7 separate regions of the Homo sapiens genome follow, and regions 1, 2, 4, 5, 6 and 7 are each linked to region 3. Evidence: promoter capture Hi-C in 16 types of primary human blood cells and fetal thymus (Javierre and others, 2016). All regions are on one chromosome and are shown on one strand. The core of a region is centred on a gene start or on the middle of the fragment in contact, and the rest is flanking DNA. Distances in the headings are between cores, read along the strand shown. Region 1 overlaps SINHCAF (SIN3-HDAC complex associated factor). Region 2 overlaps SINHCAF (SIN3-HDAC complex associated factor). Region 3 holds the start of RESF1 (retroelement silencing factor 1). Region 4 overlaps DENND5B (DENN domain containing 5B). Region 5 has its middle 5.8 kb from the start of DNM1L. Region 6 overlaps FGD4 (FYVE, RhoGEF and PH domain containing 4). Region 7 overlaps YARS2 (tyrosyl-tRNA synthetase 2).

Region 1 (3,036 bases), core at 227-2,726, 660 kb after region 3:
ACCTCATTGCATTTCTCACTGAGCATTGCCTAGGAGAGGGTAAGCCCTAGGATTTAGATCCCTCTCAGATGTTCAGGCAGAATAATTTTGTCAGGACAAAAGTAAGGTCACGGAACTATATGAAAATGGATTATGAATCCTAAGACATCAGCCTATTCTCCCCTATGTCTAAGAAGAATATTCCTCAGCTTATGACTGGAATGTCTTGCTAGGGGTGCTGGGTAAGTTTTGTGGAGGTCCCCACCAGCAGAAAAAAATCATTGAAGAGGAACACTTAATTCACAATGGCTGCTGATTAAAAAGAAAGCCTCAATATTCACCTATAACCCTAACATCCTTAACAGCTTAGCAGTGTGGTAACTGGCACAAACTATGGCGTCTTGGTCAAATCCAACCTCAGTGAAGGTAGTTCACATCCTAGAGATGAGCTGAATGCTGATAGCTTTGAGGACTTGTTTATTTGGGGGAAGGGAAAGAGATGGTGAGGGTAGAGATAGGAATCTGTCTGTCGTAATAGGATTTGGTCTGTGTATTAATGGAATGAACTGGCCTTTTTTGCTCTGCTTCTTTTGTCCTTGCTGAGAAGGGAGGCTGAAGTTTCCAAGAGTTATGGATGAAGTTGGAGAGTATTAGAGGAACTGTTCTCTGACCTTCTTGATGGTAATGCAAGCTGTTGGGCGAGTTTGGAGAAGAGCGCAGGGTGGTGTGAGGACGAGGGCCGTATTAACATTTTGCCTTAAAACAGGAATACACAAATTAAAGCAATAACTGCTACTCTGCTTTCTTGTTTCTGCAATCTTCTGTCATTTGACATTGTTTTTTCCAAAGCAACATGCGACCATTTTCTTCAGGATTTTCTTTTCAGTTATCATATGGGTTTGTTGTTGGATTGAGAAAAAAAAATCTGCCTCATTTGAGCAGGCCTCTCTAGATCTTTTCTTATGACTGTGTAGAGGGTACTTCCTCATTTTTCTTCCTCTCAAAGACATCAAATTCCCAAGCATTTAACTAAAATTATTATCAACTAAAAATGTTTTTTTTAAAACAGTTCTTAGAGGTAACTGTTTAGACTTAATTATTGAAATGCATGAAGGCCTTCTGCCTTGCCCCCATCCCACTCTTTTGCCTGCCTCTCTCACCAACAAAAACATGGCAGAGGAACAGTTTATTAACAATAGCCTGTTTGAAAGGGAAGCTTCAGTTTTTAGCTAATTATTTGCTAATAAAAGTTTTAAAAAAATTTTCTTTTAAAAGTTGTAAAACCTCTGTCTATATTTCAAAACCCCTCAATACCAAAAAAATACACATAAAAAGCCTGGATATTTGGTTCTGAATCATTTTCATTAATACTTGCTATATTATACTAACCAGAATTGGAATGGAATGGGATCAGACGAGATAATCCAAAGACAAATACAGCCATATGTCACACAAGGACGTTTCGGTCAACCACAGACTGCATATATGATGGTGGTCCCAAAAGATTATGATACCATATTTTTTTGTACCTTTTCTATATTTAGATGCACAGATTCTTACCATTGTATTACAGTTGCCCACGGCATTCAGTACCGTCACACGCTGTATAAGTTTGTTGCCTTGGAACAGTAGGCTATCCCATATAGCCTAGGGGTGTTGTAGGCTATTGCCATCTTGGTTTATGTGAGGACACTGATGTCTGCACAAGGATGCCCAATGATGCATTTCTCAGAATGTGTCCCCATTGTTAAGCAACACATGACTGTACTGAAGCTTTAGGTTTACTCATCTAAGTTTATTTCTAAAACAACTTTAAAAAGATAGTGTTCTGTGGTAATAACTCCTAAAACTATGGACACGAAAGTGATATTAATAATTTTCTTGGCCGGGCACGGTGGCTCACGCCTGTAATCCCAGCACTTTGGGAGGCCGAGACGGGTGGATCACAAGGTCAGGAGATCGAGACCATCCTGGCTAACATGCTGAAACCCTGTCTCTACTAAAAATACAAAAAGTTAGCCGGGTGTGGTGGCGGGCACCTGTAGTCCCAGCTACTAGGGAGGCTGAGGCAGGAGAATCACTTGAACCTGGGAGGCAGAGCTTGCAGTGAGCCTAGATCGCGCCACCGCACTCCAGCCTGGGTGAAAGAGTGAGACTCTGTCTCCAAAAAAAAAAAAATTTTTTTCTTTTATTGTTGCTTTATGTGATAATTTTGTGATAATTTATAGTTAGACCCTCATACATACACACATCCTCTGACTTGTCCATTGGAGTTTAGTTTCTATATTCATTGCCTTTTCATCACCTCTCTTAGTCCGGTTGTTTTGGTGAGCTGGCCCTTGATTTGGATATTCCAAATTACTTTTCCTAAGGTACAGATTTACTGCCAGCTACATATTTGCATCCAGCCCCAGAGCTGTTTTCATTCCTTCCTTGACGTTGAGATTTTTTTTTTTTTTAACAGGAGGACTGCAATTTATTTCACTCTACGTCTCTGGGACATTTGCCTCCCACTGTTACTACTCTCAGGCACAAAGCCTTGTAGAAGAGGTCCACAAACCTCTAACAACTAAGGGGCAGATCAGCGGTCAGACAACATGAGCTCGTTCTTTTTTTGTCTTAATGATAATAAGGAATTATTATTATTAAATTCTAACCTTGGATTTTTGTGAATTTTACATCTTCCCTTCAGCAGTTTCAATTCAGGGGCAAACTTGACTGCTTAGAACTTCCCATTTATCACAGAAGAAATCCCCTCTGAATTCCCATTAGGCAAAGTAGTATGGGCTGATGCATAGTGAGCTAGTTGTGTGCTTAGTATCAAATAGTATTCATGGTAAATGCTCAAAACTTCCCCAGAGGGGAATCACGTTAATGCAAATGTGCAAAATAAAAAGGTGTGTCTTAAATTTAAGGATGCATCCTTAATTGTGTACAGCTTCATTATTTTACAGGATTGTTTGTGGCATTTCTTACTTCAAAACCTGATTTTAAAAAATGCTTCTCTTCCCCATTTTTAGATTGCATGTTTGTTAGGCGAGTTAGGAGGTAGTAGAG
Region 2 (3,349 bases), core at 273-2,772, 640 kb after region 3:
CTTGTCTCCTGTCTGCAGTTTCCTTCCCATTCTGCTCTGTGTGTATTTAGATCTTACCAGTCTATTTCGTAGTCTCTCCCATGGAGTGTATTTTCTAATTTGTATCTCTCCATCTGTATGTCTTTGAGGAAGTTTATTTAAGCTCTCTGTGCTTTTTTAGATTACTCTTAAGGTGTGTCTTGATAACCAAGGTTATTGGAGAGTGATGCTCTTGGTTAAAAAAAAAAAAGCAGGAGGTAGTAAAGTGAAAGTAAGCTTCTTTTATGCTTGTACTCCTCAGAGGCAACCACTATTTACTATTTTTAAGAACCAATTTAAAAAGAAGTTTGTGTAGTTACAGTCTCATTTTAAAAACATCCTGTGAGATTATACTGTATTACTACTGTTCAACTTGCTTTAAAGGTTGAAACAGCGTGCTGTGGTGTTTCAACCATAATTTAACCAGTCTGAAAATTCGTTGACATTTAAGTCACTTCAACTATCTTGTGTTTTTTTTTTGTTTTTAAAGACTTAGGCCAGTTGATTTTTAGAAAGAAAAAAATGATAATTAGAAGCTAGGGTTTTGGTTTATTGGAAACTTAAGGATAGTTTCATTTGGGAGGTTGTTCCCCTAATTTGTGCATATCAGAATTTCAGTTCCCAAGATGACTTGGACAGTTGTGAAGTTAACTGTTATTTACCACGTTTGACTATTGCTCTCAATTTTCTTCCATCTAGTCCACCCAGTGGTATTACTGAGTTTTGAAAGGTACTTTTGAATATTAAAAAACGCTTTACTTCTGAATATATAAAAAAGCCAGAAGAAGGAATCTAGAAAGTGGAATTGGGGAAGTTAGAGTAAATAATGATGTCCTTCAAAGCATGCATGCCAACTAAGGTGAACTTAACATATGTTAAATTCATCGTAATAAGAACCCTCTCCATATCCTTAAATGTGAGTTAACACCCTTATAAAGATTTAAAAAGACAAGAAAATAGTTGAATTAAATTCATCACCTTTTCTCTGTCTCCTATTCCATATTAAAAAGGGTACTAAAGCTCTAAAATTTGCATTTCAGTATTTTTCATTCTGTTTCCTGGTTGGAGCTTAAAATGAACAAGTATTTAGTATTGCTGAGATTTATAAGAGATAATCTTTAATCTTATTTATCAGAAAACTTTTCTTAAATAGCGTCTTTAATATAAACTATCGCTGTGAAACTCTTTTTCTTTCCTATGTATATTATTATATTCAGTAAACTTATGTGTTTAATTAGATGTAAAATTAGACGTTATTCTTGATCTTTGGCTTCCCAATTTCATTAGATGGGATTAGAATTGTCCCTTTTGTGTCTTTGATATATTGTGGTTATCTCATCCCTTTCTTGACTCATCAGCACCAAGGTTAGATTCATTAAGTTAGATTCATTAAGATCATTAAATTTATATGAAACCCACAGCTTTAAAGTAGAAGAAAACCCTACAAATCAGCCAAAACAGATGTTTAGAATTGATTGTTGTGTTTTAAAACTTTATTTTTTTGTTTATATATATTGTCCATATAATTAGTTATCTTTTTAAATTGCTTTTGCTGACTTAGCTATTACCTTTAATCTTTTTTAACTTTGGGATATTCAGTTTATTTGGTCAGAGCTATAATTATGGCATGGTTTTTTTTTTATTTTTTATTTTTGAGATGAATTTTTGCTCTTGTCCCCAAGGCTGGAGTGCAGTGGCACAATCTCGGCTCACTGCATACTCTGCCTCCCGGGTTCAAGCAATTCTGCTGCCTCAGCCTCCTGAGTAGCTGAGATTTACAGGCGTCTGCCACTACTACGCCTGGCAAATTTTTTTATATTTAGTAGAGACAGGGTTGCGTCATGTTGGTCAGGCTGGTCTCAAACTCCTGACCTCAGGTGATCCACCCACCTTGGCATCCCAAAGTGCTGGGATTATAGGCTTGAGCCACCACGCCCGGCCATGGTTGATTGTTTTTAACTGTTACAGTATTAAAACAATTTTTGGGTTTTTGGCTAATAGTAGTCAAAGAAAGAATGCCAGTGAAAGTGCTTTATAAAATGTAAAGTGCTATACAAATGACAACTTAAAATTTAAGCAACACATTTATTACACCTGTGAAAGCAAATAAAAGAAAAAACTGATCAACACAGTCCTCCTCTAAATTTCTTTCTGGCCCAGGAATGTGTGTATATTGCAAAAACAGCTATGTCAGAGATAAGCGTTACAAACTCCCATAAATAGGCATGTTTTAACTGTAACCTTTCAAATCCTGAGGAACTTCTCAAAATGTTTGTCCTATTTGAAGAAACTTCAGACAGCATACTGTAGACAGATAGATGATGATAGATGGTGTCAGAAGAAAAGATAAAACTGGTCCAAGATGGCTGCAGTTTGGACATATGCATAATTAAACCACTGCCTACAAACTAAAGCTGACCCCTTGGGTTTGTAACTGGAGTTTGTTAAATATTTTACTGACAGATACTGGTTGTAAACTTGTTTATCAGATACAGAACAAAGGCAGGATGGAATCAATCATCCTTCCACCAGACCCTAAGGTGCCTACACAATTATTAACTTTTCTCTTCTACCCACTCAACCACATATTTACTTGACTTTAGGCATAACATCACTGAATATGAACCAAATTCTCAACTATTGCTTCACCATACCGCACATATTTTCCTGTTTAAAAAATATATAAAGACTGTGCCTCATGCAGTCTACTTCAGAGCACAGGTAATAAGCTACTGGAACTTGTGCTTCCTGGGTGCGCATCCTCAAGCTTTGTGTTTGCAAGCAGCACATTCAGATTCAGAACACCTCCTGACTTAGTCAATCTAATGAGAAGGTATTAAAAATTATGGAGAACAAATCCTCTAAATCGACTAAATCCCCTGCAACTGCAGAACATCTGATTCCACCTTTAGAAACCCCAGCTGGGTTAATATACAGTACTTGGGGTGCCTCATTGTGTAATTACTTAAACAAATGGACCAGGATGACTGAAGAATGACTCCACATCACAATGGCCTAAATGCAGATCCTTTGATATATGCAGACCAGGATGGAAGGTGCTAGTGCAAAAATTAAGCAACCAGAATGGGGAAACTACTTCCAGTGGTATCTTGAAAGTAGCAAAAGTGGGTAGGATGATCTTTCTTCCTTATAGAATGCTGATAAACAACTTAGAGGTGTTAACAGATAGCTCTCAAATATACTCTCCTATTAAAAAAAAAAAATCTTCAGAAGTACCTCTCTTTGGGCCTCCTTCACCACCTACACCTTCACTCTATCTTCATCTTTCTTTTTTTTTTGAGACGGAGTCTCGCTCTGTTGCCCAGGCTGG
Region 3 (3,158 bases), core at 505-3,004:
TAAACACAGCACAGACAGAAGCAGACCTCTGCCCAGGTAACTTCCACCACAATTCCCTTACCAAAGACCTCTTTCCTTATTTTGCTAAGATTAACAACTGATTTTTCAGTACTATGCCAACAACATTTCTTCTCAAGCTTTGCTGTCAATTCCATTGTGACCCACAGTTTAATTTAAAACCGATGTTGATTCACTGAGCTAGTAATTTTATTCGGTAATAGGTGAATTACTCCATAGTTGAGTGTGAATAACCGCCTGGTTAAATCAGGGCGGGTTTCTTAGAGGTGATACACTTACCGTTGAGCACAACTTTACTCTTTAATTATCGTGTACATTCCCATTTCCCTCCAAACACGTCAGTCCCTCTCCACACAGTGTTTACTTCTTTGGTCCTAGGGACAGCAAGAAACATTTTATAATAAAAGAGCACATGCTAATGTGTTTACTAGATATGACACTGCTGTGCAAAACTGTTTTCTTTTATGGCTGCACTGAAAGCATGCTAAGTTTACTGAATTCTTATTAAGTGTCCTAAGTAACAGAAATAGAAACTAGGTCTGGCCTGAAAATACCATTCACTTAAGTTAGAATTTATGTGCGCTCCTCTAGGTCCGCTATTGTAGTATCACTGCAAAACAATAATACTTTATCTCTGCACTTGTCTTTATTGGATTAATATTAAACAGAAAAAAATCCGACTGCACAGGGGAAAAAACCTAAAACCTTAACATGCATGCACATTAACAGTGACTGAAACATGATTAAAGCTAACACATTTAGCAGAAAAATGCAATCCCCAAACAAGCTCTGCGGCCCGCCTACTGAAATGCACCCGCCCGCCACTAAATGAAAATGCGCCTCAAGCTCATACACATCCTTATGTTAAGACAGTATGCACTCGATGTACTACAAATAAATTGTTTTCACGGAAATGATTCCCCGAAAGTTTGCTGCTGAACTCAGGACCCTAAGGACGTTTGCTTAGGGAATCCGTGTCCCTCGAGAACACCTAAGATGGGTATGCGTTTGTGCATTTAAAAATGCCTCAAGGAACTATTGCTGAGGAACAGAAACCATCGCCGGCGCAGAAGCGTTCGCGGACCACTTGGAGATAGATGCCAGTACAGCAATTCTGTTCCAGGAGGCTTCGGCTTAAGAGGGCCGGGGAGGAGGAGAACCCTCGGGAAATAGCAAAAAAAAAAAAAGATTTTTCTTTTTCACTCCAGCGACAGGAAAGCCTTAAAAACATAAGCAGCTCTCATACCCACCCGCCTCACCAGCCGCGCCTCGCAGTTCGACAAAATGCGTCCTAGCCTTCGCCACTCGCGACCTCTACCGCGCAGAGCCAGGCAATGAGGGAAAACAGCCAGCGAGGCCCGCCCTCCGGTGCAAGGCTCGGCATCCGCGGAGGCCCAGGGCCGGCCCCGGTGCGGCGGGCAGAAGCAAGCGCGGCGGCCCGGCCCAGCTCCGGTGGGCGGACGGCGGGACGCGCGAGCCGGCGGGGCCCGAGGCCCGGGTTCCGGGGCCGCCCGCGACTGCGTCTTTGCCGCAGAACAAAAGCGCTCTGCGCCGCGCGCAGGCCCGGACCGCGAGTGCCTCTGGCTCCCGGCTCCCGGCCCCCGCCCCGCCCGGACCCCGGAAGGCGGAGGGACCTCGGGGTGCTCGTCTCACACTTACCGACAAAGGGAAGAGGACCACCCCGGCAAGCGGGGAGAAAACCGGCGGCCTCCCGGGCCCCAGAGTTTAAGTCAAGTGGGGTCCGCCTCCAGGGGCGGGTCGAGGAGCCAGGCCCAGGATCCAGGAACAGCTACGCTCCGCCTCACGCCCGAGGCGGTGGCTGCGAGGGCCGCGCCGCCGCGGTCCTAGTGCCACCAGAGAAGCCGCGGACCCGGCCCGCAGATAACACCCGGGCTTGCAGAGCGCTTTCATCTGCCCGACGCGGAAATCTCCTGCAGCGATCTTCTACCTTCAGCGTGCATCCGCAGCACCCAGAGGGCACGTTAAAGAGAGATTGAGAACCACCAGCAAAACTGCTGATTCAGTAGGTTTGGGGTGGGGCTGAAAAATGTGCATTTCTAACAAGTTCCTGAGACCGACTGTTGCTGCTGGCCTCAGGACCAATTTTTTCTATAAAGCGCATGGAAGTCAGAGTGCACCCAAGAGATTGTTAACCCTTAAAAAACAGAAAAAAAAAAAAGAAATCAACAAGTTAGAGGCAAATAAGTGTGAAAGAAAGTGGATAGTCTATTTGGGGATTCTGAAAGTCCCTGAGGAAAGTTGACTTTGGAGACCAGATCACGAAGCACGACCTCTTAATTGCCGACCTTTTGTTATAGATTAACTCCCTTATTTTCTTGTTCCCAGCTCAGACCAGATGGCATCTGAGATAAAATACGCATTGAATAAGATAAATGACCGCTTGACTATTACATCCTTAATGTGGAATGTTAAATAGACCCTTCCCAAAAAGAAACACTGCCTTGAACCAATCAAATTGCTATGCGTTAACCTTCTATGGAAAATGTTGACATCCTGTTAAGCTTCCCAGACCCTGCCTGTGTAAACGACCCTCAAACTTCTCCCTTTCGAAGCACTGACCCCCATCTTTTGGAGTCTGTGTCCTACCGGGTCGCCATCCTCAAACTTTGCACTCAAATAAACCAATATTTAATCATATTGCCCGAATCTCATTATTAAGGTTTACGTAAGCGTTTACTTAGTAATGAAGGTTGCAACCAGGATGGCAAATCAGAGATTGTGCCACTGGAGAGGGGCAAGGGAGCTTATGTTTATAGGAATTTATTTGTTACATAAATTGTCAGATTAGTTCATTGGTGAATTAAACGAAGAAGTCTTTAGTCATTACTAGAAGAGTGCGTTTGCGTCTGTCAGAAACAAAACAAAAAAACTACATACAGAATATTCTTTCTTTTTTGGGGGGGGGACGGAGTCACGCTCTGTCGCCCAGGCTGGAGTGCAGTGGCACGATCTCGGCTCACTGCAAGCTCCGCCTCCCAGGTTCACGCCATTCTGCTGCCTCAGCCTCCCAAGTAGCTGGGACTACAGGCGCCCGCCACCATGCCCGGCTAATTTTTTGTATTTTAGTAGAGACGGGGTTTCACCATGTTAGCCAGGATGGTCTCGATCTCCTGACCTCT
Region 4 (2,945 bases), core at 258-2,757, 570 kb after region 3:
GGCCAAACAGGCCAGAGGCAAGTTCTATGGAGCCCCTGGCAAAGCCAGCCTGCTCTGATGACGTATTTCCTGCCTAGGTGGACACAGTTGATGTCCCATAGTACTTTGGTTTATTTCTCTCCCATGAGAATGCAGCCACTGTTTATTATTTTACAGAACCCAATGCTGGGCAGATACAAGAAGGAATTGGAGAAGCTGTGAACAATATTGTGAAACATTTTCATAAACCTGAAAAAGAGGTATTTATGGGCTATAAAACTTAGTATAGTGGGACTTTTAAAGATGCTTTTATATGTGATACACGAGGCAATATGGGGTGCTTGAATTTTCATTTGTAAGCTTTCTGGTAGCTGTAAAAACATGCTTCATATAGCTACCTTCAGCACTTGCTTCTCTAGTGTTTTTTTTAGACATAGATGCAGGAGATTTTTCTTTGGCACTGTGTGTTATGCCCCACAGAGAGGAAGCCTCACCGTGTTGCTGTGTGGAGAAAATGGCCTGGTTGCAGCCCTTGAGCAAGTTTTCCACCATGGGTTCAAATCTGCCCGCATCTTTCACAAGAATGTCTTCATCTGGGACTTCATAGGTAAATAAAGTAGATGTGTATTACATTAAGGTCACTGAAGCCTTTCTTAGGAACTCAAAGACCCAGGAATCTGAGTGAATAAGGGTTAGTGATAAGGATATATATATTTTTTTTCTTTTTTTTTTTTTGAGACGGAATCTTACTCTGTTGCCCAAGCTGGAGTGCAGTGGTGCGGTCTTGGCTCACTGTAACCTCCGCCTCCCAGGTTCAAATGATTCTCCTGCCTCAGCCTCCCAAGCAGCTGGGACTACAGGTGTGCACCACCATGCCCAACTAATTTTTGTATTTTTAATAGAGAAGGGGTTTCACCATATTGGCCAGGCTGGTCTTGAACTCCTGACCTTGTGATCCACCCGCCTCAGCCTCCCAAAGTGCTGGGATTACAGGAGTGAGCCATCGTGCCCGGCAAGGATATATATATTTTAAAATAAATATTAAATTAGCTGGGTGTGGTAGCACATACCTGTGGTCCCAGCTACCTGGGAGGCTGAGGCAAGAGAATCGCTTGAGCCCAGGAGCCTAGGAGGTGAAGGCTGCAGTCAGCCATGATCAAGCTACTGCACTCCAGCCTGGGCGACAGAGTGAGACCGTGTCTCAAAAAGTGTATATAATAATGATAAATAAATATCAAGTATTGTCTTTGTTTTTCATTTACTCAACAAATTGTAATATGCACAATATTCCAAATAGTATTTGAGTTGCTCAAGATATACATTAGTAAACAAAACAGAAATCCTATGGTTGACAAACTTATACTCAGGTCGGTGTGGGAAACAAACAATACACAAAAACATAACAAATATGTAATTCATATGGTATGTCAGAAATGTGACCATTGATCTGGAAAGAAATAGAGCAGTATAAAAGGAAATAAAGTGGGGAGTGGTCTTTCAAATGGGGTGGTTTTAGATTCTGCTGAATGTCAAGGTACATTGGAGCACAGACTTCATGTAGGTGAGGAAGTGAGCCATGTAGATATCTGGGAGGAGGGACTCCAGGTTGACAGCACTGCCAGTGCTAAGCCCCAAGGCGGAAGTGTTTCCATGGAACTCCAAGCCCAGTGTGACTGGAGCACAGCAAGAGAGAGAAAGTAGGAGATTGGGGGAGGGGGTGTTTAGTGCCAGTGCCAGGTTGTGTAGGGCCTTCTAGGTCATTGGAATGATTTCAGCCTTTATCCTGAATGAAACTGGAAGCTGTTGGAAGGTTTTGAGCTAAGTAGTGACATGATAGAACGTTTTTGTTTGTTTGTTTGAGACAGAGACTCACTCTACTGCCCAGGCTGGAGTGCAGTGGCCCCATCTCAGCTCACTGCAACCTCTGCCTCCTGGGTTCAAGCGGTTCTCCTGCCCCAGCCACTGATTAGCTGGGATTACACCTGCCACCACACCCCTAATTTTTGTATTTTTAGTAGAGATGGGGTTTTGCCATGTTGGCCACGCTGGTCCCAAATTCCGTCCTCAAGTGATCCACTTGCCTTGGCCTCCCAAGGTGCTGGGATTACAGGTGTGAGCCACTGTGCCTGGCCAATTTTTGTAAAAGGATTCCTCTAGCTCTGTGTTGTCCAGTATAGTAACCATTAGCCACATATAGCCATTTAAAATTTAAATCTATTTAATTTTTTTTGTTTGTTTTAGATGGAGTCTCGCTCTGTTGCCCAGGCTGGAGTACAATGGTGTGATCTTGGGTCACCGCAGCCTCTGCCTCCTGGGTTCAAGCAATTCTCCTGCCTCAGCCTGAGTAGCTGGGATTACAGGTGCCTGCCACCACGCCCAGCTAATTTTTGTATTTTTAGTAGAGATGGGGTTTCACCATGCTGGCTAGGCTGGTCTCGAACTCCCGAACTCAGGTGATCTGCCCGCCTTGGCCTCCCAAAGTGCTGGGATTACAGGCGTGAGCCACCATGCCTGGCCAAATCTATTTAATTTAAATCAAATGTAAATGTAAATTTCATTTTCTTAATAACACTGGCCACATTTCAAGTGCTCAGGAGCCACTTGTGGCTACCAAATTGGACCTTGTAGATAGAGAACATTTTCATCATCACAGGAAGCTCTTTTGGAGTGTTTCTGTTCTAGCTTGCTAAGCTTTGTGATCTTTCTTTTGGTATGCAGCTCTTCTAGAATTCCTAGTTTCTTTAAATGGGCAATTAATCATTTTGTGTTTTCTAAATAAGGCCTAGATGAAGTAGTTTATTTCATCTAACTTAGAATAGACAAAAAAAGGAAAGTTGTCAGAGATAGGCCCCCAGGAGTGATTTTTTTTTTTTCTTCTGGAATGCCTAGAATCTTATTGCTTCTGCTTCTCATGTGTATATACATATATCTCTCTTTGTCAGGTACTTATTCAGGTACATTTCAAG
Region 5 (3,022 bases), core at 500-2,999, 710 kb before region 3:
GTAGGGGATCTCATTCAGCAAGCTGTCTCACAGCAGATGAGGCAGAGAGAACTGGGGAGGAACTGAAACCTAGGAACCTGGTTTCTGCCTTGCTTCTCTAGTATATTAGTTCCCTATTGCTGCCTTAACAAATTACCACAATTTTAGTGGCTTAAAACAACAAAAATGTGGCCAGGCGCAATGGCTCACTTCTGTAATCCCAGCACTTTGGGAGGCCGAGGCGGGCGGATCACGAGTTCAGGAGATTGAGACCATCCTGGCTAACATGGTGAAGCCCTGTCTCTAGTAAAAATACAAAAAATTAACCGGGCGTGGTGGCGGGTACCTGTAGTCCCAGCTACCCGGGAGGCCGAGGCAGGAGAATGGCGTGAACCTGGGAGGCAGAGCTTGCAGTGAGCCAAGATCACGCCACTGCACTCCAGCCTGGGCAACACAGTGAGACTCCATGTCAAAAAAAAAAAAAAAGTATTGTTTTACAGTTCTATAGTTCAGTAGTCTCACACAGGTCTCACTGGACTAAAATCAAGGTGTCACCAGGGCTGCAAACCCTCCTAAAGCCTCTAGCAGGGAATTCACCTCCTTGCCTTTGTTAGGGGCCCCCTGCATTCCTTGCTGGTTACCTCCTTCCAACCTCTTCAAAGCCAGCAATGTCGCATCTCTTTAACTCTTCTGCTGTCATCAGGCCTCTGACCCCCAGAAAAGCTTCTCTGTGTTTAAGGGCCCATCATTAGATTGGCCAACCTGGACAACCCAGGATAATATCCCTGTCTCAAGGCCTGTACCCTTAATCACATCTACAGAGTCTCTCCTGAGACATAAAGTTCACAGGCTCCAGGGATTAGGACATGGACTTATTGGAGGGGCCTACTGCACCTGGTTAAGGTGATTGGTCTAGGGATGGACCTGCAGGACCATTTAGAATCCTTCTCTGAGAATTTCCTAACCTGAATTTGAACAAAAATATTTTCTCTCTCTGGTTATAGAACTGTAAGCATGTGAGTCAATGTCTCCAAAGATCATGTTTCCTATCTCATGGAATAAATTGGTTTGCAAGAATAAACTTCTTTATTCACCTTGAAGAACTTCCCCAAATTCAGTAACTTACCCATATATATACATATATATATATATTTTTTTTTTTTTTTGAGACAGAGTCTTGCTCTATCACCCAGGCTGGAGTGCAGTGGTGCAATCTCAGCTCACTGCAAGCTCCGCCTCCTGGGTTCACGCCATTCTCCTACCTCAGCCTCCCGAATAACTGGGACTACAGGCGCCCACCGCCACACCCGGCTAATTTTTTGTATTTTTAGTAGCGATGGGGTTTCACCATGTTAGCCAGGATGGTCTTGATCTCCTGACCTCGTGATCTGCCCGCCTCAGCCTCCCAAAGTGCTGGGATTACAGGCATGAGCCACTGCGCCTGGCCAACTTTCCCATATTTTTAAATGTACATGTGCTGTACAGCACATAACATCAGAATTCTAATCCCCATAGTTAACCATATGAATTTCTCCATTTTTCCTTGTTGCCCTTTTCACACAATATTATTGAACTATTATTTAAGTGCTTATTGTATGTGAGGCACTATACTAAGCATTTTATCAGAGCCTCGTGAAGTAGGTTTAGAGATGTAGAAACGGAGGCTCCAGGGATTGAAGTGAAGTGGTAAATTTACACAGCTAGTATGTGGCAGAGATGGGATGAAAAGGGGCTTTTTGGCAAACCCCCTTTTTTTTCTTTTTTTTGAAACAGTCTTACTCTGTCGCCACAGTGGTGCGATCTCAACTCACTGCAACCTCTGCCTCCCAGGTTCAAGCAATTCTCCTGTCTCAGCCTCCCCAGTAGCTGGAACTACAAGCGCACACCGCCTCGCCAGGCTAATTTTTGTATTTTTAGTAGAGACTGGGTTTCACCATATTGGTCAGGCTGGTCTTAAACTCCTGACCTCAGGTGATCCACCCGCCTCGGACTCCCAAAGTGCTGGGATTACAGGTGTGAGCCACCATGCCCGGCAGCAAACTCTCAACCGCTACACATTCTGCCTCGTGTATTTATTCCTTTCTTCATTAATTCAACACATATTGATGAAGTACTTGTTAGGCATACGGATCTTAGCCAGGCAGTATATTTTGCTGGAGAGTAGGGAGGAACCGTGGATATGGCACTAACATGCCCTCCCCCTTCACCAATAGTGAGCTCACGAAGGGCAGAAGTGATTATCTTATTTAGCTGGGTTCCCCCACTACCTCGTATGAAGCGTGTTACATAATATTAGTCTACTGGATATGGGGTTTTCTTTTCTTTTTTATTTGGAAAATCTGGAATAACAAGGATTTAAGCAGCTCTGAATTGATATAATTGCAACCAGGACTGGCAATCAAATCTCACCAACACATATGAGTCTGGCTTGGCATAGGACTCCTCATTAGAATAGATGCCAAGTTACTTAGCTAGGGAGTAGCCTGGCTTTGTTCTAACTTAAAATCCCGAATTAGAGGAAGTTTATTTTGGATTAAATTAATAACTGGAAATTAATCGATCTTGGAAAAGGTCAGACTGTTTTTATCGCATGTGTCCAATATCATTTTATGCCAACATTTTGATCATCAATCACAGCCAAGATGCCGGTATCTGCACCTTCAAATCATAGCGGTTAGTGGGGATCTAATGTTAATATAAAATATACAGCTCTGTTGGGGAAGCCTCTTTGTCATATTTTGGAAACTGCCCGTGTTTTGCAAAGATGATAAAGTAAACAGCTTTAATCAATTTGCTACTCCCCAGGCCTCAAGCTTAACACATACTTTGTTAGCAGGTGCAGGAAATTGTTTGCAGATGGTGGAATTGGCCAGATGGTTCAGAAGCCAGAAATTGAATCTGGTGAGATACTGACGGGACCATGAGAGGGCAGTGTGACAACACAATTAAGAGCAGTTAACGACAAAATAACTTGGGAGTTAAGATATGGTCCTGATTTCTTCCCTTTGCTCCACACCCACACCCCAATAGAACGTAGCCCTTC
Region 6 (3,190 bases), core at 475-2,974, 510 kb before region 3:
ACAATAAAAGGTTATTTTCACATGACAGTCTGATACAAAGGCATCCAAGGTAAAGAAAGCCCTATCTTAAAACGATTTGTGGGAGTATTTTTTACCTAATGTTGTGAACCCCTAAGACATCTATGGTAAAACCCAAAAGGCATTTCAGAGAAATATACCAGTGGAAACACCATCAGCTTGGACTAATAGAGCCAGTTAAAAATGAAAAATACTAGCACCCTACTCGGACAGGAAGACGCCAAAAAACACAGGCCATTTCTTGTGGAAAAGAATCAGAAGACAGCCAAGAGCCTAGGGGATGGAGATGAGGGCCAAAGAGAGGCACCCAGGTAGTGAACTAGTTCCTCAACAAGGATATAGATCGAGCTAAATGTCAGAAATGCTATGCACCAGTGAAGGTCATGTGCCTCCCAGTCACATCTGCTGCTTTTTTCTGTTTAAATAAGTTTACAATGGCAAGGTTTTTACTATATTCACAGATACATATACCCGCCATCAATTTTAGACCTTTTCATCACACCAAAAATAAATTTGTTTTTAATTTGGAGATAGGGTCTGGCTTTGTCACCCAGGCTGGAGTACAGGGGTGCAATCACGGCTCACCGCAGCCTCAACCTCCTGGGCTCAAGCGATCCTCTTGCCTCAGCCTCCGAGTAGCTGGGACTACAGGCACACGACACCATGCCTGGCAAATTTTTGTATTTTTTGTAGAAATTTCGCCATGTTGTCCAGGCTATTCTCAAACTCCTGGATTCAAGCAATCAACCCACCTTGGCCTCCCAAGGTGCTGGGATTACAGGCATGAGCCACCTCTCCCAACCCAAAAAGAACCGTATACCTTTTAGCTATCACCTTCCCCCATTCCAGCCCTCCCAGCCTAAGCAACGCTAATCTTTCTGTCTATAGATTTGGCTCTTTGGGACATTTCATATACATGGAAGCATACAACACATGGTCTTTTGTGACTGGATTCTTTCACTTAGTACATTTTTAAGATTCATCCATGTTGTAGGTAGGAGTACTTTATTCTTTCGTACAGCCAAAAGAATGCCAGTATACAGGCATATCACTTTTTATTTACCTATTCATCAGCTGGACATTTGAGTTGTTTCCACCTTTTGGCTATTATATTGCAACTATAAACATTCATGTACAAGGTTTTCTGTGGAACTATGGTTTCATTGCTTTTGAGTATATGTCTAGGTACAGAATTGCTGGGTCATATGGCAACTCTATGTTTAACCTTCAAAGAACTACCCAGACTGTTTTCCAAAGCAACTGTACCATTTTACATTTCTACCAGCAGTGTGTCAGGGCTCTGATTTCTCCACAGCCCCGAATACTTTTTGTTTTTTTTTTTTGAGACAGAGTCTCGCACTGTCACCCAGGCTGGAGTGCAGTGGCGCGCTCTCAGCTCACTGCAACCTCTGCCTCCTGGGTTCACGCCGTTCTCCTGCCTCAGCCTCCCGAGTAGCTGGGACTACAGGCGCCCACCACCATGCTCGGCTAAGTTTTTGTATTTTTTAGTAGAGACAGGGTTTCACCATGTTAGCCATGATGGTCTCGATCTCCTGACCTCGTTATCTGCCCGCCTCAGCCTCCCAAAGTGCTGGGATTACAGGCATGAGCCACCGCGCCCGGTCCACAGCTCCTAATATCTTTTTGAAGAGGAATATCTGATGTAATTTTCCTGTCCCTGCCTTACCATTATATGTTGGGGTGGAAAGTGGGGAAGAACGGAAAATAACGTGTGCTTTTAATTCATAGGTCTTCAGTTTGAGATGAGCTGCACCCAGGTGTGTCCGGAATTGGTGGGTTCTTGGTCTGACTTCAAGAATGAAGCCGCAGACCCTCGCGGTGAGTGTTACAGCTCTTAAGGTGGCGCGTCTGGAGTCTGTCCCTTCTGATGTTCAGATGTGTTCGGAGTTTCTTCCTTCTGGTGGGTTCGTGGTCTCGCTGGCTCAGGAGTGAAGCTGCAGACCTTTGCGGTGAGTGTTACAGCTTTTAAGGCGGCGCGTCTGGAGTTGTTCCTTCCCCCCAGTGGGCTCCTGGGCTCGCTGGACTCAGGAGTGAAGCTGCAGATCTTCGCGGTGAGTGTTACAGCTCATAAAAGCAGCATGGACCCAAAAAGTGAGCAGTAGCAAGAGTTATTGCAAAGAGCAAAAGAACAAAACTTCCACAGTGTGGAAGGGGACACGAGCAGGTTGCCAATGCTGGCTCGGGCAGCCTGCTTTTATTCTCTTATCTGGCCCCACCCACATCCTGCTGATTGGTAGAGCCCAGTGGCCTGTTTTGTCAGGGTGCTGATTGGTGCGTTTACAATCCCTGAGCTAGATACAAAGGTTCTCCACGTCCCCAACAGATTAGTTAGATACAGAGTTTGGACACACAGGTTCTCCAAGGCCCCACCAGAGCAGCTAGATACAGAGTGTCGATTGGTGCATTTACAAACCTTGAGCTAAACACAGGGTGCTGATTGGTGTGTTTACAAACCTTGAGCTAGATACAGAGTGCCGATTGGTATATTTACAATCCTTGAGCTACACATAAAGGTTCTCCACGTCCTCACCAGAGCAGCTAGATACAGTGTCGATTGGTGCACTCACAAACCTTGAGCTAAACACGGGATGCTGATTGGTGTATTTACAATCCCTGAGCTAGATATAAAGACTCTCCACGTCCCCACCAGACTCAGGAGCCCAGCTGGCTTCACCTAGTGGATCCCGCACCGGGGCTGCAGGTGGAGCTGCCTGCCAGTCCTGCGCCCCGCACTCGCATTCCTCAGCCCTTGGGTGATCGATGGGACTGGGCGCCGTGGAGCAGGGGGTGGTGCTCGTCCGGGAGGCTTGGGCCACACAGGAGCCCATGGAGTGGGTGGGAGGCTCAGGCATGGCGGGCTGCAGGTCCCGAGCCCTGCCCCGTGGAAAGGCAGCCAAGGCCCAGCGAGAAATTGAGCGCAGCACCGGTGGGCCAGCACTGCTGGGGGACCCAGTACACCCTCCGCAGCCACTGGCCCGGGTGCTAAGTCCCCCATTGCCCGGGGCCAGCAGGGCTGGCTGGCTGCTCCGAGTGCGGGGCCCACCAAGCCCACGCCCACCCGGAACTCCAGCTGGCCCGCAAGCGCCACACGCAGCCCTGGTTCCCGCTCGTGCCTCTCCCTCCACACCTCCCTGCAAGCTGAGGGAGTGGG
Region 7 (3,126 bases), core at 312-2,811, 790 kb before region 3:
GTACGGCTTAGGGATATGGTCACAGTTTTAGAGGGATGCAGAAACAGAGGCCCTATGTAACAGATTAACACAGCCCCTCTCATAGTCTGTATCCTTTTTATATTCGGGGATGGGAAAGGTTACCTAACCTATCTATAGTATTAACTGAATTTCTGAAAATGAAATGAGCATATAATGGCCAAAACCGCAAGTACTTTTGCACTAACCTACTAACGTCATAAGACTATTATTGTAAACTATATAATAATCCCCTTGAGAATTGCATTTTCTATTCAGGAATTGAGTAGAATATTTTAATTAATCAGTTATGAGGTATTAAGGAGTAAATAAGGTTTTTCACAAAAAATAATTCAGCATATAATTGATGCTTATCCATTTTTAAATGAACAGTGAGGTGGAAGGAAAAGTGTTGGGTAGCCAGAAGACCCCCAGGTGCCTCTTTTGCAGGAGTTCACACAGAAGTCAAATGGTTATCGGCCATATCATGGCCATGATTATGAATGACATTTGTTATAGTTGTTCTCTTTCAACTGTCTTGGATTGTTTGCCTGTGTCCTAAAGAGTCCTAGACTATTCTGCCTGGAAAAAGCACCCATTGTCTCCCTTTGCATCACCTGCCACTCCACCTTAGTGATTCCCTCATCTGCTGGTTTAACACACAGTGAATTTGAGGCTGGTGTCATATACTTCCCTGTAGTATGTCAGCGAGACAAATAATTTTCCTCACTATGGAAGCAGATTTCGTTTTCTTCTGAACTTTACTATAGTGTGTTCGCTAATACTGGAAGCTTTACCACTACTAAAAATGACACCACATCTGATTTAGCCAGGGCTCTAAGTAATACTGATTTTTTTTTTTAATATTATATAAGCTAAATAGGTTTGGTGCATTTAAATTAAACATAGAACATGATCTGGAAACTAGCAGACAGCGTAAAATAATACTTCCTAAAAGAAAGGAATCTGGCCTTAAGTAGAAAATATTTTACTGATGAGTTTTATAAAACCATGTCCATGGCCAGGTATGGTGGCTCACATTTGTAATCCCAGCACTTCGGGAGGCTGAGGGCGGGAGGATTGCTTGGGGCCAGGAGTTCAAGATCTGTGTGGGCAAGGACGTAGTGAGACTCCGTCTCTACCCAAAAATAAAGGTATAAAAATATCTTTAAAACCATGTCCAGTAGTGGTTTCTTAATTTTATTTGGTAACATTCAGATGAGAGAAAACCACCATTTTTCTTTCTTAAGGACTTCCAAGATCTAGCCACGCTGTAGCCCTGTCTTCTCAGATCTCACCTCTTTCTAGCTGCTCCCATGTTTCCTGCCCTGATTGTCAAGGTAGCTTCACTCCCAGTTTAAGTATCTCTTTTTTCAGTGAAATGTTCAGCCCTCACCTACCCAGTGTGCTCCTAGAACAACTTCTCCTAGGTCTTTCTTTTTTTTTCTTGAGACGGAGTCTTTAAAAGAGCAGATTGCAAGGCGTAAATTCCGGCCAGACACAGTGGTTCACACCTGTAATCCCAGCACTTTGGGAGGCCAAGGCAGGTGGATCACTTGAGGTTGGGAGTTTGAGACCAGCCTGGCTAACATGGCGAAACCCATCTCTACTAAAAATACAAAATTAGCCAGGTGTGGTGGCATGCACCTGTAATCGCAGCTACTCTGGAGGCTGAGGCAGGAGAATCACTTAGAACACAGGAGGCGGAGGTTGCAGTGAGCTGAGATCATGCCAGCCTGGGCTACAGAGCAAGAATGTGTTTCAAAAACAAACAACAAAAAACAAAGAGCAGTAAAGAGAGGCAGAATCTATTAATAATAGAGCAAACATGAAGGTAACAGTCCAGTGCCAAATGAAATCTTCTCAATTGGAGAGCCTCTGAAATCTAAGTGAAACAGTCTTTTTTGGGGGACAGATCAACAGTGATTGGATCTCTCTACTTACTAAACGTTTCTATTTTTTAGGTATCGAATGATAACAGAAGGCGGAGTCAGCATAAATCACCAACAAGTAACAAATCCTGAGAGTGTTTTAATTGTTGGACAACATATTCTCAAGAATGGACTTTCCTTACTTAAAATAGGAAAAAGAAATTTCTACATTATAAAATGGCTTCAGTTGTGATGAAAAGTCCTTCTGGTTGTCCAAATAAACTTACCCATCATTCATTCTCAAGACCTCTGAAGGGTTGGCTCCAGAACTTAGACCTTTGCTTATGCAAATCAGAAAAACAGAATGGACTAGGACTCAGTGTGAGTAACTTCATTATTTTTATGGGCCGGTTAATAAATATTTGTTTAATAATGGGATGTTTTATTTTCTGATGTACAAAGCTTGATTACCATAGAAAACCATGATTTTCAGGGTTAATCTCTTTTTAAAATTATACTTCAGAAGAGAAAGAAATGCTGCTTTCCTATCTTACCCTTCCTGCTCTCCTTTTTGTAGTGATGAGGAACAATGAAAAAGAGGTAGTGTAAGGAATTGTGAGGCTGGGCATGGTGGCTCACACCTGTAATCCCAGCACTTCGGGAGGCCAAGGTGGGCAAATCGCTTGAGGCCAGGAGTTTGAGACCAGCCTGGCCAACAGGGCGAAACCCCGTCTCTACTGAAAATATAAAAATTAGCCAGATGTGGTTGCAGGCACCTGTAACCCCAGCTACTCAAGAGGCTGAGCTGCGAGAATCACTTGAACCCAGGAGATGGAGGTTGCAGTGAGCTGAGATCACGCCACTGCACTCCAGCCTGGGAGACAGCATGAGTAGTGAGTGAAACTCTGTCTCAAAAAAAAAAAAAAAAAAAAGGAATTGTAGCTGCTTTTCTATCAGGTATGGAGCACCGATGTCACTAATGTTATATAGTTGTTTATAAAATCATCAGGGCCTCTAGTGTCCACATTAGAAATGGGAAAACTAGTATTAGAAACTTTGAATAGAAATTTGATTTTTTTGTAGTTCAGAGAGCAAATGTAGTTCTTAAAAAGGAGAAAAAGTTAGATGAGGCCATGGTTGCTTTGAGAAATTACAGTAAGTAGTTTCTTTACAAATAATAGTACAAAAATCAGTACGTGACTTTTCAGAAAGTTTCTAATTCAGTTTTCTGGTTCCTTGCCTGTGTTCCAGTATAATT

The links. The method cuts DNA at HindIII sites, captures the fragments that hold promoters and counts their contacts. A CHiCAGO score of 5 or more calls a contact.
Region 1: a fragment that was not itself captured here is called in contact with the fragment with the promoter of RESF1 in region 3 in 1 of 17 cell types (non-activated CD4 T cells); the score reaches 8.1 in non-activated CD4 T cells.
Region 2: a fragment that was not itself captured here is called in contact with the fragment with the promoter of RESF1 in region 3 in 7 of 17 cell types (total CD4 T cells, non-activated CD4 T cells, activated CD4 T cells and 4 more); the score reaches 9.9 in total CD4 T cells.
Region 4: a contact is called between a fragment that was not itself captured here and the fragment with the promoter of RESF1 in region 3, in 1 of 17 cell types (naive B cells). The highest score is 5.1, in naive B cells.
Region 5: a fragment that was not itself captured here is called in contact with the fragment with the promoter of RESF1 in region 3 in 6 of 17 cell types (endothelial precursors, total CD8 T cells, naive CD8 T cells and 3 more); the score reaches 7.9 in endothelial precursors.
Region 6: a contact is called between a fragment that was not itself captured here and the fragment with the promoter of RESF1 in region 3, in 1 of 17 cell types (neutrophils). The highest score is 7.7, in neutrophils.
Region 7: a contact is called between a fragment that was not itself captured here and the fragment with the promoter of RESF1 in region 3, in 2 of 17 cell types (total CD4 T cells and naive CD8 T cells). The highest score is 7.7, in total CD4 T cells.

Annotation. Positions count from the first base shown.
Region 1 is chr12:31,298,442-31,301,477 of GRCh38, reverse strand. The region is part of intron 1 of SINHCAF (SIN3-HDAC complex associated factor); the gene reads left to right. Among named protein-coding and RNA genes, the nearest start is that of FLJ13224, 24 kb to the left of the region's middle. The HindIII fragment of the contact is 557 bases long and covers 1,198-1,754 here.
Region 2 is chr12:31,314,494-31,317,842 of GRCh38, reverse strand. The region is part of intron 1 of SINHCAF (SIN3-HDAC complex associated factor); the gene reads left to right. Among named protein-coding and RNA genes, the nearest start is that of FLJ13224, 8.1 kb to the left of the region's middle. The HindIII fragment of the contact is 2,530 bases long and covers 258-2,787 here.
Region 3 is chr12:31,958,011-31,961,168 of GRCh38, reverse strand. It overlaps RESF1 (retroelement silencing factor 1), which reads right to left and starts at 1,754. Exons shown (of 6, transcript NM_018169.4): 1 at 1,678-1,754; 2 at 298-392. It overlaps LOC105369725 (a long non-coding RNA gene), which reads left to right and starts at 1,865. Exons shown (of 2, transcript XR_931503.2): 1 at 1,865-2,041; 2 at 2,365-2,676. RefSeq lists a silencer at 1,444-1,783 and an enhancer at 2,836-3,158. The HindIII fragment of the contact is 2,403 bases long and covers 140-2,542 here.
Region 4 is chr12:31,389,908-31,392,852 of GRCh38, reverse strand. DENND5B (DENN domain containing 5B) reads left to right here. Exons shown (of 21, transcript NM_144973.4): 18 at 157-239; 19 at 460-586. Among named protein-coding and RNA genes, the nearest start is that of LINC02387, 22 kb to the right of the region's middle. The HindIII fragment of the contact is 2,331 bases long and covers 342-2,672 here.
Region 5 is chr12:32,671,978-32,674,999 of GRCh38, reverse strand. No RefSeq gene overlaps it. Among named protein-coding and RNA genes, the nearest start is that of DNM1L, 5.8 kb to the left of the region's middle. RefSeq lists an enhancer at 1-806. The HindIII fragment of the contact is 2,090 bases long and covers 705-2,794 here.
Region 6 is chr12:32,472,259-32,475,448 of GRCh38, reverse strand. The region is part of intron 1 of FGD4 (FYVE, RhoGEF and PH domain containing 4); the gene reads right to left. Among named protein-coding and RNA genes, the nearest start is that of FGD4, 74 kb to the right of the region's middle. The HindIII fragment of the contact is 4,250 bases long and covers 1-3,190 here.
Region 7 is chr12:32,746,199-32,749,324 of GRCh38, reverse strand. It overlaps YARS2 (tyrosyl-tRNA synthetase 2), which reads left to right. Exons shown (of 5, transcript NM_001040436.3): 5 at 1,962-2,781. The coding sequence ends at 2,121. Among named protein-coding and RNA genes, the nearest start is that of YARS2, 8.1 kb to the left of the region's middle. The HindIII fragment of the contact is 1,542 bases long and covers 791-2,332 here.